2 separate regions of the Homo sapiens genome follow, and region 1 is linked to region 2. Evidence: promoter capture Hi-C in 16 types of primary human blood cells and fetal thymus (Javierre and others, 2016). All regions are on one chromosome and are shown on one strand. Each heading gives the region's core, a stretch centred on a gene start or on the middle of the fragment in contact. The rest is flanking DNA. Distances are from core to core; before and after follow the strand shown. Region 1 overlaps AKAP1 (A-kinase anchoring protein 1). Region 2 holds the start of DYNLL2 (dynein light chain LC8-type 2).

Region 1 (5,456 bases), core at 1,080-3,579, 960 kb after region 2:
TCTGGCCCTAGCTGCTGCAGGTGTCTCTTGGCTTTATGTTACTTAAGATTTAAATTTTCCATAAAAGCAAAATCATTGATCTCTCTTGTCATGGTATCTTTCCCACTCTAAGTTCCAAAGCTTTTCCATGGACTGATCATTTAATCACTGTGGCATTTATTTGGGGATGTGGACTGGGGCAAGATGAATCCACGCTGCTTTAGGGGTGGTGGTGAAGAGCACCTGGCCTGGGGTAGCAGCCTGGTTTTTAGTTTCAGCTCTGCTCTATCCACGAACCACTTTCCAAAATCACCATCTTCTACCTCTTGGGTCTGCTCATCTACGGAGTCCCTGCCTCCCTGGGTTGTGTCAAGGACTCAGTGTTACCTGTAAAAGAGACAGCACCTGACACAGTAAGCACTCCCTAACTCTAGCTACAACTCTCATTTTATCTTAGAACTGACATTAGTTATCGTCTGACAGATGTTGATGTCTACAAGTGGCATACCTGAAGTTGTACAAGGTATAGCAGTAACCCTAAAACCCAGCCTCCATGGTGATGCCCCAGAGACCAGAGGGGCAGTACTGACACCAATGCCTATAATGAGAACAGGGTGGAAGCTCTAGCCTCCTGCATCCAGCATTCCACCCCTCTCCCCTACACCCTGGGCAGATTGCCAGATCTCTTGCCAGCACTGGCTTCTCCCGTGAGTTTCCAATTCACACCAAGACATCCCCTGGATGCCCCACAGGTAATTAAAAGAGGGCGTCTCAAATGCACTTGCCCGGGCAGCTGACTTGCAGAGGGATGGAGCGAGGACCTTCATAAATCTGCTCCTCCTTAAGAACAATGAGATTTCTGGCAAAATGGTTAAAAGTCAAGTTTTTCAGAACTCTGGAAATTAATCAAAGGCAACAATCTGAGAAGCATTTATTCGAGGAGTACAAGTCCTTCACCAGCCTCCAACTTGCTCTTCCTCCAGCATTCCAAACCGAGTTTAATGGAGGCACCCTTGCAGGGTAGGACTCTAAGGCGTGGGAGTCCCGGGTAGCAGCCCATCCCACTCATCAAAGCCCAAGGGGCTTTATCTGAGGATCCTGACTTCATCACGTCTTGTCTGTCCCAGGCTCCATCCCAGGGGAATCCCTTTTTTCTCATGTCTACACCTCCACCTCACCCACCCTTCTCCCTGCACCAGAAGCATGTTTTAATGTTTGAAACCCCTCAATGGTTCCCTGGAGATAAAAGCTAAATCTGCACACCAGGCTCTGTGAGCATTCCCTAAGTTAGTCGGAAGGCTTCCGTAGACCTTTTCATGCTCCAGCAATGCTGGATTATAGAGGAAAAGCTTAGACCTGGGTGTATGGTGACCTGGCCAAAGTCACACCCAATTCCTGCCAGGACTTAAAGCCAATAGTGGCTAAGGAACTGCAGGGGAGCTCCCTGGGACCAAGCACTGTAGAAGCAGAGGGCATTTCCATGATTAAATTGCCTTATGAGGTTATCTCATCTTACAGATGAGGGAAACAGAGGCTGTTAACCACACAGGCGAGAACCTGGATGGAGGGGAAGATGGGCACCTGACAATGGCCACAGCTCAGGCTTGGCCAGGACAGAGACGGAAAGAACAAGCCAGCTGGGTTGGAACTGGGAGGAGCTCCCAGGAGTGGGTGTGCGGTGGGAGGATATCTCCAATCAGAATGACCCTCAGGCTACGTCAGCTCTCTAAAAACTAGAGCTCAAGCTCAACAGCCCTGCAGCCAGAGGCCTCAAACGTAGGGGGCAGGGGCGGGGCACTGGGGTAGGCCTGGGCTGCAGTGGCCAGCCTTCTTTAAGAGCAGGGGCTATTAAATTGAGGCAGTATCTCATCCCATAACTTACATGTATTTTTTACATCATTCTTATCACTACAGTAAATTAAATAACTTCACGAATCTATTAAGAATGACAACCAAAGAAGGCACAACCCGTTTTGGAAGCCAGTGCTTTAAACTGAGTCTGGCCAGTTAACATGCAGTGAAGAAGTCGGAGGACGCTTGGCTGCCACCTGGTGGGACAAGGAGAGAGAGGAAAAGGCCAGATAGAAATTTCTGGCCAAATTGTCTTCAAAAAACCATGGGTCTCCTGCAGAGGCAGTTGTGTGGGGCCTGTGATCCAGCTCGCCACACTCACCACCCCCCCCCCGCCAATTCTTCACCACTGGAAAAAAATGGACTCAAAGCTGCAGTTCATACAATTGAAGATTTATGTAAGTTACTTACTTATTTTTAAACTGCACAATGCTGAAGCCAGTCTAAAAAAGAATCAAACACACCACTGCAAGTTAATTCAATGAGTTACTTTTTTTTTTTTTTAAACAGATTTGTACAGCAAAAAGTTCCCAGATCACAGTCTCTACCATACAGTCACCTGTCCAGTGTGCAGGAAGCCACAGGGGCCCTGGCCAGAGGGGCCAAGAGCAGAAGCTGCACTGCAGAGTTTACTTCTACCTACAGGTGACATGTGGCTGGAAGAATCTTGAGTTCCCTTTGTTCTCCAGTGTATCTTGTACAAAATATTACATTTGTTTAAACACATATTTACAGAGTTTGCACAAATAGAAAATGGTTACAAATTACAACCAGGCTTGGCAGGATACCAGTTCCCCTCCCCACTGACCAAGGTCAGATGTGATGACCATTTCATATTTACAGTTGCAATTTAAAAAGTCTGTGTTTAGAGACCTAAATGAAGTTTATAAAAACTGGTTAAATATCATCAACTCATTTATGTAAGCTGTACAAGTAGTGGATACCAATTAGTCAGTTCATGTCTTGCTCCCTGAAGAAAGATTTTGAAGTAAAAGAAACCCTCTCAAGCAAGCAACATACATCCCTGGCCTGTCTGCCAGTTTGTTTGGTTTTTGCCGGGGAAGGAGATAGAAGGAAGAAGAGGGGAATGGAACAGGGGGAATAGGACAATCTGGTTGAAACTGTTTCTATTCCTTTTTTTTTTTTTTTTTAAACAGCTGAGAACCAGCATAAGCCAGCTGGCTTGTTAAACACTATCCTTTGGCTTTGCGAAGAGAACCCATAGTTCCATCCTTTTTTCTCAGAGACGAAATGTCTTCTCAATAGGACTACAGTATGGAGAAAGAAAGGACTTTCTGGAGAGGACAATGTTTGTTATTCCGATGTTCATCTTTGACTTGAGTGCCAAGCCCAATTTCAACAGTGCAAAAAAAGACTCTCAGGAAGCAGCATGGGGGTCAAAGGCTTGTGTAGTAGCTGTCTACCCACTGGGCAAGGCCTCGCTCCACCAGGGACCGGTTTATCAACACCACCTAGAAAAGAAAGTTCCCTTAAAGCTTTTGTCCATGGCATCCTGGGGCCATCTCCCTAGCCAACATGAGTTCTCCCCTCCCCGGTTGCCACTGCAGGCAACAGATGTATGAGAGTAACAGTGTAGGCCAGACGCAGTGGCTCATGCCTGTAATCCTAGCATTTTGGGAGGCTGAGGCAGGTGGATCACCTGAGGTCAGGAGTTCGAGACCAGCCTGGCCAACATGGTGAAACCCCGTCTCTATTAAACATACAAAAATTAGCCAGGTGTGGTGGCAGGCACCTGTAATCCCAGTTACTGAGGCTGAAGCAGAATCGCTTGAACCCCGGAGGCGGAGGTTACAGTGAGCCAAGATCACGCCACTGCACTCCAGCCTGGATAACAAGAGCAAGACTGTCTCAAAAAAAAAAAAAAAAAAAAGAGTAACAGGGTGGGGGACATGGCTTATGCTCTAGCCAACAGGAACATTTATTTAAGTATTCTGTTGGCTGCTGTGGCATAAGGATAGGGTTTTTTTGTTTTTGTTTTTGTTTTTTGAGACAGAGTCTTGCTCTGTCACCCAGGCTGGAGTGCAGTGGCACAATGTTGGTTCACTGCAACCTCCGTCTCCCAGGTTCAAGTGATTCTCCTGCCTCAGCCTCCCAAGCAGCTGGGATCACAGGTGTGCATCACCACACCCAGCAGATTTTTGCATTTTTAGTAGAGATGGGGGTTTCGCCATGTTGGCCAGGCTGGTCTCAAACTCCTGACCTCAAGTGATCTGCCCGTCTCGGCCTCCCAAAGTGCTGGGATTACAGGGGTGAGCCACTGTACCTGGCCAGGATAGGCTTTTTAATATGCTGAAGAAATCTAAGCTTTCATACCATAAGATAGAGGACAGAAAAACTCAACAGACAGAAGGTCCCAGAAAGTCTCGCACAGGGTTTCTCCACCTTGGCGCTATTGACATTTGCGGTTGGATAATTATTTGCTGTGGGGGGCTGTCCTGAATACTATGGGATGTTTAGTGGCATCCTTGGCCTCTACCCACTAGAGGACACTGACATCACCACTGCCAATCAGGACATCCAAAGTGTTCCCTAGGAGGTGCTTGTCTACAGTTATATCCTCTGATTAACTCAAGAGGAAACAAATCCCAGGACCAGCTCCTAATCAATCCATTACTTCGGGCCAGCAACACAGAAGGAAAAGAAGGGCAGAACTTACTTCATCTCCAACCACACTCCACAGCTGAATCAGAGGAAGACCAGTTGGACTGTAACTTGTCACCTGAAGAAGGGGGGTGGAAAGAATAATATGGTTAGGTTTTGTGTCCCCACTCAAATATCATCTTGAATTGTCATCTCCATAATCCCCATGTGTCGAGGGAGAGACCTGGTGGGAGGTGATTGGATCATGAGGCGGTGTGCCCATGCTGTTCTCGTCATAGTGAGTTCTCATGAGATCTGATGGTTTTATAAGTATCTGACAGTTCCTCCTTCACATACTGTCTCTTGCCTGCCCATCATGTAAGACGTGCCTCTTCCCTTTCTGCCATGATTGTAAGTTTCCTGAGGTCTCCCCAGGCCCGCAGAATTGTGAGTCAATTACACCTCTTTCCTTTATAGATTATTCAGTCCCAGGTATTTCTTTACAGCAATGTGAGAACAGACTAATATCAAGTATTAGCTACTTCATGCACCTTTCCTTAAATACTGCTGGTCAATCCAGGGCCAAGCCACAGGAAAGAAGGCATTGAAAGGTCAGTTCCCAAGAACCCAGCCAGCCTGCCTCCCCCACCCCTGCCAACCACACACCTGAGCAAGCAGTGCTGTATTCCCCGTCATCTCGCTCATGGCGGCATCTGCTTCCGGTGAAAACTGGTCATCGTCTTCAGGAGGAAAAGGAAAAGCGGCATTTAGGCTCTCACTGAGGCAAGGCACCCTTGTCATGTACACAAGTTTCAGGTGCATTCCAAGTAGAATGCTTCAGATGCTGTGGAACTTGAGAACTGCACTGGGGAGATCCACCCAGGTCAGAGACAGAGCCTAGGCCTCCATATGACTCCCAGTGGATAAACTAAGGGCCGCTACTGCATGTTGCCCACTGGTGCAGCACAGACAACAGATGGACAGAAACTTCACCACTAACACCACCACCAATACCACCAGCAGCA
Region 2 (5,748 bases), core at 3,062-5,561:
CTTTTCTTAAGAATGTAGACAGAAAGGGGTGATGTAGTACCTGAGTCCTTTTTAAGGAAAAGAAAAGGAAACCTCCTACATGATGAGGATTATTACAGGCATATCCACTTTAAATGATGTAGTTCCCTGAAAATTTGTACATCTTATTCTTTCAAATATCCTAGATTTTAATTTTGAATAGTTCTGAACTGGGCCAGAAATATTTAATTCTGAAGTTTCTCTGCATAATCTTATCCTTCCCCAATGCCTTGCAGTAGCATAATTACCTGTAAAAGTAAACATACACACACACACACACACACACCTGGCAGAGCTATTAACAACTCCTAAGGTGAATGCTTGGGCAATTCGGAATCACTCGCTAGTTTGTCTGCTTTGCAAGTTCCTAGGGTTTTGCTTGCACAGGATATACGGGCTTTCTTATGTCCCCAGCTCCAGATCTCCCTGGAGGTTAGCTCAGCTGTCGATCCCCACCCCTGGCCATCAGTCCCAGCTCTCCCAGCACACCTTCTTGATATAGGCAGCAATGTCCTTCTCTATATTGTACTTCTCCATGGCCTGCGTGGCGCAGTCAACGGCATCCTGTTGCATGTCCTCAGACATGTCTGCGTTCTTGATCACTGCCTTCCGGTCAGACATGGTGTGACACTACAGAAGGAGCAGAGAGGTAAGGCTGACAACTCCTTGCTCTGGGCAGTGAACATTAGCTGCTGGGTGTGGGGTCTCAGTGCAAGAGGGGAGTATAGAAGGTGAGGGCAACAGAAAACACGGATGTGAAGCATTAGGAGAGGGAGCCCCTAAGCTTTGGCAGAGACATTGTTCCCACCCTGGGAAATACAGGGCCAATAGGACATAATAACTCATCAGTTTTTATCATAAGTAAAATGAGATTTTCCAACTCTAAAATTTACTTCCGATATTCTGAAGAGCACCAATAGTCAAGATTATATTACAGTGTACATCTACTAGCTGTGTCGTTGGGCAAGTTACTTAATCCTTGTGTTTTTATGTCATTATCTGTAAAATGGGGACTAAGGGTTGTCCTGAGAATAAACCAGGTGTCCTAACATTTGAACAGAATTAAGTCCCTGATTTAATGACCATTCATTACATCATTGGCATCATAGCAGAAAGAAGCTGGACTAGGACTCAGTAGGCCTGACTCCTGGTCCTGAGTTTATCTCTCGTGGTCTTAGACAAGTCACTTGGCCTTCCTACATTTGATTATTTTCATTTTAGCAGGTGAGGATAGCTCTCTATCGCGAGTTGTTGTAAAGATTAACTGAAGTTATATGAGAGCATCTGCACACAAGGACAGTCTACAAGGGACTGTCCATCAGCCAGATCCAGCCTACCACCTGTTTTTGTAAAATAAAGTGTTGCAGGAACATGCTACGATAGCAGAGTTGAGTACTTCCAAGAAACTATTTGGCCTGCAAAGCCAAAAATATTTCCTATCTGGCCCTTCACAGAAAAATGCTGCCAACCCCTGCCCTATACAGGCCCTATTCCAGGCCACCAATGTCCAGTGGGGCAGAGATAATGATAATTATGCCTTCTCTCAAGTACTCCAGGCTGAGATGCCCGTAAGAGGTAGAGAGGGTGGGAAGGCAACCTCAGACTTGGCTGGTCGGTCACACAGGACATGTCTCTCTCTGTCCCATCCTCCCCTCTGCTTCCCCACTCTCCTCAGTACAATGTTCATTCTTTAAAGCCCAATATAATTTTTGAAAGCCCTAGATTTTGGACCCAGCTTCAACACTGATTTCTCATCTCTTTGGTGCGTTGCTTCCTCATGTCAAACTTATTCATTCATTCAAAAAGTACTGACCTATTAGGTGATGTGAAAGGTATTATGTTAGGAGACAATATCTTATTTTCCTCAAAGGAATGCTGAAGCCTTCCTTCCCCTAAAAAAACAGAGGCTTGGGAAAAACCTGGAGATAAAGCATTTTAAAAAGGTGCCTAAGAAAGGTAAAGATTTTAATAGCCTTGTTTCATATCCCTGCTATCAAGGCCATGCCATTCATGCCATAGCAACCACAGGTTCCAGGCAGACCCTGCATGGACCCTTCTTGGGACGAGCGGAATCTCAGGACGTGCCTGACAGGTGGCAACATGTGAGGTACTATGCAGGAACAGAGGGGATGAGCCCTTTGTCCTTGACCACAGTCCCAACACATGGAGCAGTAACTATCTCCCCCATCATCCCACCCCTAAAAGCACCCCTCTGTGGCCCAGCCCAATGGACAAGAGATGCTGTCATTCCAGCTCTATCTGATGGAAGGCTACACAGGAGGCTGCCTGCTCAAGGACATATCCTTGGTATCATTCCAGGCCACCTTGATCTCGGAGTTCACAATAGCCTGTGGGCTAGATGGCTGAAAGGGAAAACAGAACTCACCACCACCATTTCAGCCTGCACCACATGCAGAGAATGCACACATGCCAGCTGCCAGCCAGGCAGCCCTTGACCGCATCCAAGGCCCCTTCATCTAGATAGCACTGCCAAACTAAGCAGGGCTGGTTCCACTTCGGCAGAAACTGGCAGAGCAAAGAGGTAGTAGACCAGCACCCTCTGCCCCCACATTCTGGAGAGGAAAAGTCAGAGCCTCAACTGGAGTCTGTGAGCACCATGTGGTGCTGAGGAAAGATTCGGAGAACCCTGTTCAAGGAATGACTAGTTACGTGACCTTGGGCAAATCAACATCTTCATTTTAAATACTAATGGTTGAAATGAGATAAATGGGGTAAACTCAAATGGGTCTGAGCAAAGGTACAACAGCAGCACAGGGAGAAAGGTTCTTACATTATAAGGCTCTGTATAAGTGAAGAAAAACTAGTGTCACCTGGTGGCCTATTCCAGGTTACCACTCAGAAGGGGGCACTGTTTACAAACCCAGGGGTGGGGGTGGGGCCTGGTTAGACAGCAAAGTGAAAGTATGAAATTGGCACCATTTTGCCTGCAAGCTCACCTGCTCCACTGCCTCATTCCCAAAGTCCAAAGGAGCAACTTTGTTACAGTAATTAAAAGCCACCTTACTCTCCAGGAAAGAGCCTGCGGTTACATAATATTGGTCTTACGACTACAATGGCCCCCCAGGCATCTGAGAGAGGTGAAGCCCAACCCCTACCACCCCTGTCCAAGGTGCCGGTAAGCAAAGCACAGGAAGGTGTCCAGCCTAGCCCCTCCCTCCTTGGGAAAAAGCAAGGGACCTGGGCCTCCAGATAGGAGGAAGATGGCCAGAGGGCCCCAGGCCAGCAGCCTCAGTCACGAGCCAAGGCTCCTGTGAAAAGCACAAAGGGCACCCCAGGACAGCTCCCATCCTCTATTCCTGGTTTTGCAACCAAAAAAAAAGGCTAAATCTCCGAATGACACGGACCACCATCCCCACCCGCCAATACACACACACTTCTACTTCCCTCTTCGGGCTCTCCAAGTGGGCCGTATCCCTCCACTATCCCATCCTCCAGAGCGCTGCGGTCCCGAAGGGCAGCACCTGGGGAACGAGGAAGCATCCTCCTTCCCCCCGACCTCCCGCCCGCGCCGCCGGCCAGGTCCGCAGGCCCCGGCCGGTCGGCCGCCCTCCCCCACCCGGCCTGGAACAGCGCCGGAGTGACTGGGCGTCCTCGCTGCAGGAAGGACGCCCCAGAGGGTGGCGGTGGCGGCAGGAGGAGCCGCGTCACGCCCGAGCCCTCTCCACCCCCTCTTCCCCGGCCCCTGACATCAGGGGCCTCCACGCAGCGCAGAGAGACTCCCGGGGGCGGGGGCAGCGGCAGCTCCGCAGCCCGGGCCTCCAGCAGCGCCACGAGGGTGGCCGGGGCAAAGGGTGGCGCAGCCCGGGCTGCGCCGAGAGGGAGGGGCGGCGGGGGCGCGCTGCGCTGCCCGGACCGTCAACGCCAAGGGCTGCGGGGCCAGCCCTGTTCCAGGCCTTGGGGCCGGCTAAGGAGGCCGCAGGGCCACCGCGGCGAGGGCCGGGTCGTGTAGAGTCGCACGCGACGGACACAGGCCCGCCACCCGGGGGACGCCCCCACCCACCGCTCACCTTCACGGAGGCGAGTCCGCACTGGGCCCTGGGGAGGAGCGATGGCCCGAGGCAGAGCACAGGCAGGGGCGGTGTTCCCTGGGCTCCTCCTGCAGCTGCAGCAGCCGCCGCCGCCGCGGTCTCCGGCTCCCGCAGCCCGAGGCCGATCGCTCCCTGCCGCGGTCCGCCCTTGGAGTTTCGCCGGCCGCCCGCGCTCCGCCTCACGCCGCCCGCCCGCCCGCCCGCTCCGCACTGGCGCCTCACAGCTCCGCTCCGCTCTGCCGCTGAGCGCGGCCGACGCGCGGCCCCCGCTGAAATAGTGCCCCGCCCCCGCCCCCCCGCCGCGCGCGCCGCCGTCCGCGCTCCCCATTGGCTGAGCCCGCCCGGCCCCGCACTGCGGGCTTCTCCCCGCGCCGCTCTCGCCCCACATCTTGTTTCCTCCCACAATGCCTCGGGGCGGAGGGAGGGGGTGGGGAGGAGGAGCTGGAGCGGGTGGGGGAGGGAGCCGTGGCCTTAAGAAAGGAGAGGAATGCGGACCCCTCCCCCCGGGGCTGGAGAGGCCAGGCCTGAAAAGGAATAAAGAGACATGGTCCTGAGAGAGGAGGAGAGGGAAGGGTGTGGAGACCCCCAGTCCCAAGGAGAAAAAAGGGAGAGGGGGATGGAGATTTCAGACCCAGGGAACAGATGGGGCTGAGGTAGAGACCCCAACCTTAGAGAGGGGAGGAGATGAAGTCACCAGCCTCAGAGGAAAAGACAGGACACTCCCTCCTCCCGTATCTGTGAGAAAGAGAGGGACAGCCAGCCCTATGGAGAGGGAGAGGCATAGGAGCCCCAGGACTCCCTCCCCTCACCTTCCGGGAAGGTCCCTTCTTCCTCCTTTGTTCTTTGAGGCTGAAGGACCTAAACTCCCAGCTGGGCCCCCAGCCGGTATTTGTCTACAGGAGCAATGGAGACAGAGCCGAAGCAAAATTGATGGGGATGTGTCTTTGGTACGCAGGCCTCTGCTGTCCTTGCACATTTATGGCCTTGGGGTCCTGGGATGGGGGTGAGAGTGAGCGATTTCTTGTCGTCTGTCCCTGCCTGTCCAGGTAGACAAGGTTGGAGGAGAGTGAATAGAAGCCCCCAGAGGTGGTGCCTGTCAGAGCTGTGAGGAGCCTTCAAAAACCACCCATCCACACCCCTCACTTTATAAAGGAGAGAATCCAAGTACAGAGAGCCCTGCCAGATCCCGCAGGTCAGGCTTGACTTGCTTCTAGCTGAAAAGAGGTGCACCCAGGAAGCAGCCCCTCTGGAGGCTCAAGAGACTACTTCTGGGAGAGTGGGTGTGAACGTGCGCGTTGGGAGCCTGCCTGCCCTCACTCCATCCCACTCCCAGGAAAGATCCTCAGGCCTGCGGTTTTCTTTCTGGTCTGTTTTATACAGAAGTGTCTACCTCAAGGGCTGACGAGCCTTTATTGGGAACCAAGCATTTTGGCCATACAGTAGGGATTAAGAAGCTGCCGGGGATAGCTCCCACTCCCATCTTTTCCCCTTCGCCTCTCCAAACCATGGTCAGGAAGTCAGACTTGCCCTGGCCCTGGCCTGCTCTGGTTTGAAGCATCAAAAGTTAGTGTTCGTTATGTGTCAGGGGAAACCTGGAAAAATCATTCCCTCTGGTTACTGCTTTCCACAGTTCTGTCCTCTAACAACCTCAGTTGGGGGATTTCAGAGACCAGTTAAGGCC

The links. The method cuts DNA at HindIII sites, captures the fragments that hold promoters and counts their contacts. A CHiCAGO score of 5 or more calls a contact.
Region 1: a contact is called between a fragment that was not itself captured here and the fragment with the promoter of DYNLL2 in region 2, in 1 of 17 cell types (naive B cells). The highest score is 5.0, in naive B cells.

The regions. Positions count from the first base shown.
Region 1 is chr17:57,118,096-57,123,551 of GRCh38, reverse strand. AKAP1 (A-kinase anchoring protein 1) reads right to left here. Exons shown (of 11, transcript NM_003488.4): 9 at 5,098-5,171; 10 at 4,508-4,570; 11 at 2,208-3,302. The coding sequence ends at 3,228. Among named protein-coding and RNA genes, the nearest start is that of AKAP1, 36 kb to the right of the region's middle. The HindIII fragment of the contact is 1,998 bases long and covers 1,331-3,328 here.
Region 2 is chr17:58,081,982-58,087,729 of GRCh38, reverse strand. It overlaps DYNLL2 (dynein light chain LC8-type 2), which reads right to left and starts at 4,311. Exons shown (of 3, transcript NM_080677.3): 1 at 4,047-4,311; 2 at 508-648. The coding sequence starts at 639. DYNLL2-DT (DYNLL2 divergent transcript) reads left to right here and starts at 4,526. Exons shown (of 3, transcript NR_110809.1): 1 at 4,526-5,014; 2 at 5,114-5,748. RefSeq lists silencers at 3,522-3,651, 3,692-4,111, 4,152-4,211, 4,222-4,571 and an enhancer at 4,288-4,582. The HindIII fragment of the contact is 13,862 bases long and covers 805-5,748 here.